2 separate regions of the Homo sapiens genome follow, and region 1 is linked to region 2. The links are contacts of gene promoters, found by promoter capture Hi-C in human tissues and cell types (Jung and others, 2019). All regions are on one chromosome and are shown on one strand. Each heading gives the region's core, a stretch centred on a gene start or on the middle of the fragment in contact. The rest is flanking DNA. Distances are from core to core; before and after follow the strand shown.

What was found. Contacts are between HindIII fragments. The study calls those that stand out against the background at their distance.
Region 1: a contact is called between a fragment that was not itself captured here and the fragment with the promoter of F7 in region 2, in 1 of the 25 tissues and cell types used here (spleen).

The regions. Positions count from the first base shown.
Region 1 is chr13:113,266,090-113,269,663 of GRCh38, reverse strand. It overlaps CUL4A (cullin 4A), which reads right to left. Exons shown (of 20, transcript NM_001008895.4): 20 at 2,556-3,574. Among named protein-coding and RNA genes, the nearest start is that of MIR8075, 5.0 kb to the right of the region's middle. The HindIII fragment of the contact is 7,439 bases long and covers 1-3,574 here.
Region 2 is chr13:113,103,456-113,107,088 of GRCh38, reverse strand. F7 (coagulation factor VII) reads right to left here and starts at 1,298. Exons shown (of 8, transcript NM_019616.4): 1 at 1,184-1,298. The coding sequence starts at 1,247. The HindIII fragment of the contact is 23,631 bases long and covers 1-3,633 here.

The DNA.
Region 1 (3,574 bases), core at 1,033-3,532, 160 kb before region 2:
AAGTTAAAACATGACATACATTTTCAGCTTTAATGGAATGTGGAAAGAAATAGCTTGTCTTTGATGCTTAGAATATTCTTTGAGCTGCACAAACAAAGGATTACATTTCTCTTTTTTTTGAGACAGAGTCTCGCTCTGTCGCCCAGGCTGGAGTGCAGTGGTGCGATCTTGGCTCACTGCAAGCTCTGCCCCCCAGGTTCAAGTGATTTTCCTGCCTCAGCCTCCCGAGTAGCTGGGACTACAGGCGTGCGCCACCACGCCTGGCTAATTTTTTGTTTGGTAGAGACGGGTTTCACTGTGTTAGCCAGGATGGTCTTGATCTTCTGACCTCGTGATCCGCCGCCTCGGCCTCCCAAAGTGCTGGGATTACAGGTGTGAGCCACTGTGCCTGGCCTGCCAATACAGGAGGTTTTCATGAGAAACTGAGTATATTCATGGATCGAGAGAATAGGGTTTCAATATGTCCATTACAATTACAAAGGTAACCCATAAAATAACTGATGACAACAGTGGATTAGGTTGGGAGGAGAGCGGGCGGGGAAGTGCAATTACTTTGGGTTGGCTGATTCCTTGTGTTTTATGGTAAAGAAACAACACAGTGGGTGGGGCCATTTTGTTTTCTTAATAATTTGTCATTACTTTTAAACATTCTTTTGACACAAAATTAAAAAAATACAAAATGGTATATGCATAGAAAAGATTCTCGCATACCTGCTCGCAGCCTTCCAGAACTCCATTCTGGAGTTGAGCCGTCGTTATTCACACGTACACGGGCCGCACACACAGTGGTGGCAGGACGGCACTGCTCTCTTTTCTTACGTGGTATTTCTTGACACTCACTCCAAATGGACATCTAGATCTTGGTTCAAGCTGCATGGTCAGAATATCACACATGCATGGACTTAGCACATGGTCTGTTTCCTTATTGAAGGACATTTAAGGTATTTTCTGTGTGTGCGAGAACAGTACTAGAAATCATTCTACGTGAGTGAAAGGAACTTACTGGGTCAAAGGTGTGGGCATTTTCGAATTTAATATACCCTCACAAATTTACCTGAGAGACCATCATTTCACAATGTCTCAGATCCCTCGAGCTGACCTCCCTCACCAGAGCCCACCAGCCTGTCCCCCATCACTGCTGGGCCTCTCACTCTCACATGGCCCAACTGTCACCTCTGCCCCCTCCAGCCCTTTCTGAATTCAGTCTGTTGACAAAACCTCCATCTCCTAAACGTTCTTACTAGGCGGTCCTAACACCTGCACTCCTCTTCCCCTGAACTTCCCGGGCTGCTGCACAAGGCCTGGGCCTGGCCACTGCCTGGTTTCTCCTTCCAAACCCACCACAGGGTGCCCATGCCTCCGTGGAGGGGGCAGAGGCCCGCTGCTCACTTCGTGACCCTCCCCCTGGGGCTGCATCTGGGGCGAGGCCCTCCCTTCTGCCCATTGCTGCTTCCAGGCCATGCTCCTTCCATGCTGCTGGACACCCCGGCGGGGGTGCGCCCTTCTCACTGGCTGGCCCACCTCCAGGCCTCAGGGCTGTCCTGCACTCAGGGCCTCCATCACTGGCTCCTGTCACCGTCCCTGACTGCTGGACGACCATCAGGTCTTGTCTCCCATGCTCTGGCCCCAGTTCCCCGTCTGTCCTCACCCAGACCATCATTGCCAACAGCTGCGCCCTCCAAGCTTACCTCCTAAATCTTCATGTTACATGACCCCCCCACCCTCCAGCCTAGGGCCATGGTCACCGTCACAACCAATGTCTCCCCCGGCACCACACCTATGGCCAGCCCTCACCTGCCCCCACTCCCTGTGCCCTCGATCCTGCCCTCTCCTGGGATATTAGGGCCTTGCTGCAGGACAATGCCCAGTCACCTGCCACTGAAATGCAGCTCTGCTCCTGCGACCTCTTGGAGTCATTCTCAGCCGCTGTTCATCTGTTCTTGAAAGCAGGTCTGCCCTCACGGTACCCGTTTCCTCTGCTCCCACTCTCTTAAAGCTAATGAAGAACTCACTTATCCGAAGGCTTGTTGCTGGTCTTCTTGCTGACTTCTAGTTCTGTTAACATTAAACTCATCAGTACTTTGTCGTACATTTTATCCAAGATGGTTCCAGTTTTTTTTTTTTTTTGAGATGGAGTTTTGCTCTGTCATCCAGGCTGGAGAGCAGTGGCGTGATCTCAGCTCACTGTAAGCTCCGCCTCCCGGGTTCACGCCATTCTCCTGCCTCAGCCTCCCCAGCAACTGGGACTACAGACGCCTGCCGCCACGTTGGGCTTTTTTTTTTGTATTTTCAGTACAGACGGGGTTTCACTGTGTTAGCCAGGATGGTCTCGATCTCCTGACCTCGTGATCCGCCCGCCTCAGACTCCCAAAGTGCTGGGATTACAGGGATGAGCCATGGTGCCCGGCAAGGGTTCCAGTTTTTTTAACCTTGTTTTCCCCCATGTTGACTTTAAAAGATGTCATTTAATGTCAATCCTTTTTTAAAAAAATCGATGTGAATTCACTAGATCACTTAGTGGAAAAACACAAATAAAGGGGCAACGGGTCCAAAAATCTTAGAAAGGAGGACTATATTTTTCTTTTTCTGAGTTCTATTGTACAGCATGGTGAATACAGTCAAAAATTGAGTATTGTACATTTCAAAATTGCTAAGAGTAAATTTCAGATGTTCTCACTACAAAAATGTTAAGTATTTGAGGTGATGGATGTAACTAGCTTGACTAGTCCACAATGTATGCATAATTTATAAGATCACTTTATACTCTATAAATTTATACAATAATAGTCAATTTACAAAAAAAGTATCTTATGATTATGGTTTCATATATATGTATTTTTTTACACGTAAATACTTGACCACTTGGAACTTCCCTTAGTATAAAAAGGAGTCTAATCCAACTTTTCTCTTTTCAAGGTGGCCCAAACTTCTGAGCATGGGTAGTTGTTGCAAAGTTCCAGTTCCTGATCACACACGGCCCCTTTGTGCCACGCCGAGTTCCTGTGTATTTGGCTTATTTGTGGACTTTCTTGTTCCAGGAATCTTTTTAAAGGGCCAGCATCATGCTGTTTCAATTACAATGTTCTAAAAACAGCAGAATTTAAAACAATTTGACTAGTCTGGCATATTTGCTTTTCTGTTTTAACTTTAGAATCCGCTTGTGTTTTAAAGGAAGGTTTTACATCTTAAGATACTGTATAGCAAAATGTGAGAATCAACAGAACTTTCACTTATTCAGGGCCTGTGTTCCTTAGTAATGTTATAATACCTTTCACATAGGTGTTTCCCTATTTGTTACTAGGTATTTTATCTTTTTTGGGGGTTGCTATTGAAAAAATGACTTCTGGTCAGGTGCAGTGTCTCATGCCTGTAATCCCAGCATTTGGGGAGGCTGAGGTAGGAGGTTCGCTTGAGGCCAGGAGTACAAGAACAGCCTTGGCAACATAGCAAGACACTGCCTCTATAAAAAATACAATAAAAATTATCTGGGCGTGGTGATGTACACCTGTAGGCCCAGCTACTCAGGTGGCTGAGAAGAGAGGATCGCTTGAGCCCAGAAGGTAGAGGCTGCCGT
Region 2 (3,633 bases), core at 49-2,548:
ACCCCAGTCCCAGGGAAGGCCAAGCTGGAGCGGTCACTTCCTCTCGAGCAGGGAACACCCTCCTTGGGGGGCACTGCAGTAGCCACCCCGCGGGCTGGCTCTTTGCCATGGGAGGGGAAGGAGGTGATGTTGGCCCCCACTGGGCCCCAGGACAAAACCAGTGGCAGTCCCTGCTCACCTCTGTGAGGCCCCGGCTTCCACGGCATGTCCCGTGTTTCTCCTCCTGAGGCCTTAGCGACCCCGCCTGGGGCAGGAAGGTGGCCGGGGTCATAAGGCCATGCTGTGAGCTAGGGCTGCAGCCCCACATCCCAGGCACTGTCCCTCACAGCCCACCCCCCACTCGCCATCCCCACACGCCATCCCCACGCCCCACTAGCCATCCTCACGCCACACCCCCTACTCGCCATCCCCATGCCCCACTCACCATTCCCAGGCCCCAGCCCCACTCGCCATCCCCACCCCCCCATGCCCCATCCTCTGCACCCCACACGCCCTTTCCATGCCCCATCCCCCACACCCCACATGCCCCATCCCCGACACCCCACACACCCCATCCCCCACACCTCCATGCCCCATCCCCTGCACCCCACACGCCCTTTCCATGCCCCATCCCCCACACCCCACACACTTTCCCACACCTCACCCCCACACCCCATGCCCCACATGCTGTTTCCCAGGCCCCACCCCCCCACGGCCCATCCCCCACACCCCACACGCCATCCCCACCCCCGATCCTCCACACCCCATCCCCTACGCCCCACATGCCGTTTCCCACACCCCATCCCCCATGCCCCAGGCGCCATCCCCCACGCACCGTCCCCTACCTGTGCTCCCCAGCCTGGGAGCACCCTGTGCGCACTTCCTGCACTCTGAGAGGCCCCAGACTCCCTGCGCTTGTCCGACCTCACAGGCAGGGGCCCATGGGGGCCAGGAAAGCACCACCCACTCCTAAAGTTCTTTGAAAAATAATCCCGCCAAAGCCTGGGCCACCAAGAAGGGCCTCCCCTCCTGTGCCTGGATGCTGGTTTCTAGAAGGAAAGAAATTGAACAGGAGCCGCCAGAAAACCCTCCTGGTGGATGGGGGTGTCCGGAGCAAGGGCGGGGTTTGGGAAGCCCGGGCTGGCTCCTGGATTTGCCCACTGCCCTTCCACCAAGTTTATGGAGAAAACCTCCCCGGACGCACCTGCAGCCAGGCAGCCCTGAAGCCCAAGCAGAAGGCAGAGGAGCCTGAGGGCCTGGGAGACCATGATGAAATCTCTGCAGTGCTGCCCCTGCCTGTTGACATTCCCCATGGGACTGACGGGCAAAGTTCTCTGCCTCCAAGGGTGACAGAGGGATGGGGGAGGGGAGGACACAGGCGTCCTCTGAACACCCCAGCTGAGAGCTGCACCTGGCCGGCCAGTGGCCATGCATCCCCTGCTGCCCAGCCACTGAGCTCAAGTGGGGGGGACAGGAGAAAGGTCAGGTGACCCCAGCTGTGCTGCAGAGCGGACGGTTTTGTTGCCAGCGTGCAGGTGTTAAGGTGTGTGTGGCACCAACACTTCAAATACGATCTAGAATTCCAAACCCCTAATGTAAGTTGGGAAACAGATTTAAACTGCAGATGAAAACTTGTCCCATAGCAATCATGCGAGTCAAATCTCAAGACTGTATCTTGGGTGTGGATGTAAATATTTGAAGAGAGCCTCCAGACCAGGCCAGCTAGGCCGTTGCCTGCAAGGGAGGCTGGTTTCTTAGGTGAGCCACAGAGCCTCACTGAGAAGTGCCGGGAATAGGATCATTCTGGCCCTGAGCTGGGCACCCCCACTCCGTTTTGACTGCAGGCAGCACCCCCATTCTCCAGCGGTCCACATCTTACGTCTTTTTGTTTGTTTTGTTTTGTTTGTTTGAGACAGAGTCTTGCTCTGTTGCCAGGCTGGAGAGTGCACTGGTGCAATCTCACTGCAACCTCCACCTCCCGGGTTCAAGTGATTCTTGTGCCTCAGCCTCCTGAGTAGCTGGGACCACAGGTGCACGTCACCATGCCTGGCTAATTTATATATATATATTTTTTTTTTTTAGCAGAGATGGGGTTTCACCGTGTTGACCAGGCTGGTTTCGAACTCCTGACCTCAAGTGATCCACATGCCTCAGCCTCCCAAAGTGCTGGGATTACAGGCGTGAGCCACTGTGCCCGGCTGGCGGCAGTCCACGTCATTTCTACCTGCTGTCATGGGCCCAAGCCACAAGCTGTGGTGACTAACCACCCCAGGTTGCCCAGGGACTGAGGGTTCTCAGAATGTGGAACTTTCCATCCCAAAAACACTGGGGTAGACGGTCATCCAAGCCTCCTGGGTTGCCCAGCAGGCCTGTCTGACCCCTCAAGCAGGGAGTATCCTCCATGTGAACAGTTGCATTGCTGATGACTTCTTTGGAAGCTGATGTCCAGTTCTTTTTACGGCTGGAGGGAGGGAGGTGATTCCTTCCCAACAGCCAAGTCTTAGCTCAGGGGTGCCTTTCAAAGCAGCCCCCAGCACCCCCAAAGCCTCCCTGCTTGCTGCTGACCTGCATCTCAGTCCAGAGAGCAGAGCACTTGCTGAGGGGCCGACAGGGCATGTTTTCTCTTCCACCCAGCACAGCTGAAGCCCATCTGTGCCCCTCCATGATATCGATCCCAGGGAGATCGCTTACAAAGTAGCTGCTCCGTCTGGAATAAAGCTCACGTCCAGCTCAAATCTGGTCCCCGCGGCTCTCGGCCAGCACAGCCCAAGGTAATTTCAGGACGTGGAGGGGAGGGGGCCATATCTAAACCCTACCCCTTTCCCACCTGAGAGTAGATGGCTGGCTGGTCTTAGGGTACCCTTCCCCTTTGGGGCTCCAGGTCAGAGGTCCTCAACCCTCTCTGGGCAGCAGAATGACCTGGGGAACCTCAAGCGCCAAAACCCCCTGAGAGATTCAGTGGCTCATGGCCTCGGGGCTGGTGAAGCTCTTCAGGTGATGGACCCTCACCTGCATGCAGCCCTCTCTGTGCGGGCAGGCGGGAGGGGGCAGGAACCGGGCTATCTGGCTGGGCTCTCTGCCCGTCTCACTGCTGGCCAGGGCGGCTGCAGGTGCCCGCCTATGGCCATTGTCCTGGTGTGGGTCCTTGAGGACACAGGTGTGAGGGGCTCCACCTGGCCCCGGGGACCCGCTCCATACCTCCCTGAGGGGGACCTGCCTGCTGGTCTCCCTCCCACGTCTGTCCCAGGGGCATGCCTGGAACCTTGCCTGGGGCTGGACCCGGCCACACGGAGTAGCAGGTGTGGGGGCTGCTGCACCATCCCTCTCACAAAACCCCACTTCCTCCCTTCAGGGAGGCTAACCAGGCTCTCCCAGGACTCCCGGGACCTCCTCTGGGGCCTCCTTGGACATGCTGTGGCCCTGTCACTAGGATGGGAGGGTCCTTCAGCCCCTACCCTGGGGAAGGGCACGGTCACAGCTCTGTTCCCAGGCCAGGCCTCCCTCTCTCCTGTGGCAGCCTCTGTTGATCCACCCATCCACTCATTCCCGCCTGCAAGAAGGGCTGGGCCCCTCCGCCTCACAGTCACTCTTGAGTGTGGAGGACACAGGAAAACTTTGGTTGTCATCTCAAGGCAAGTTGCTTGTTTGGGGGCT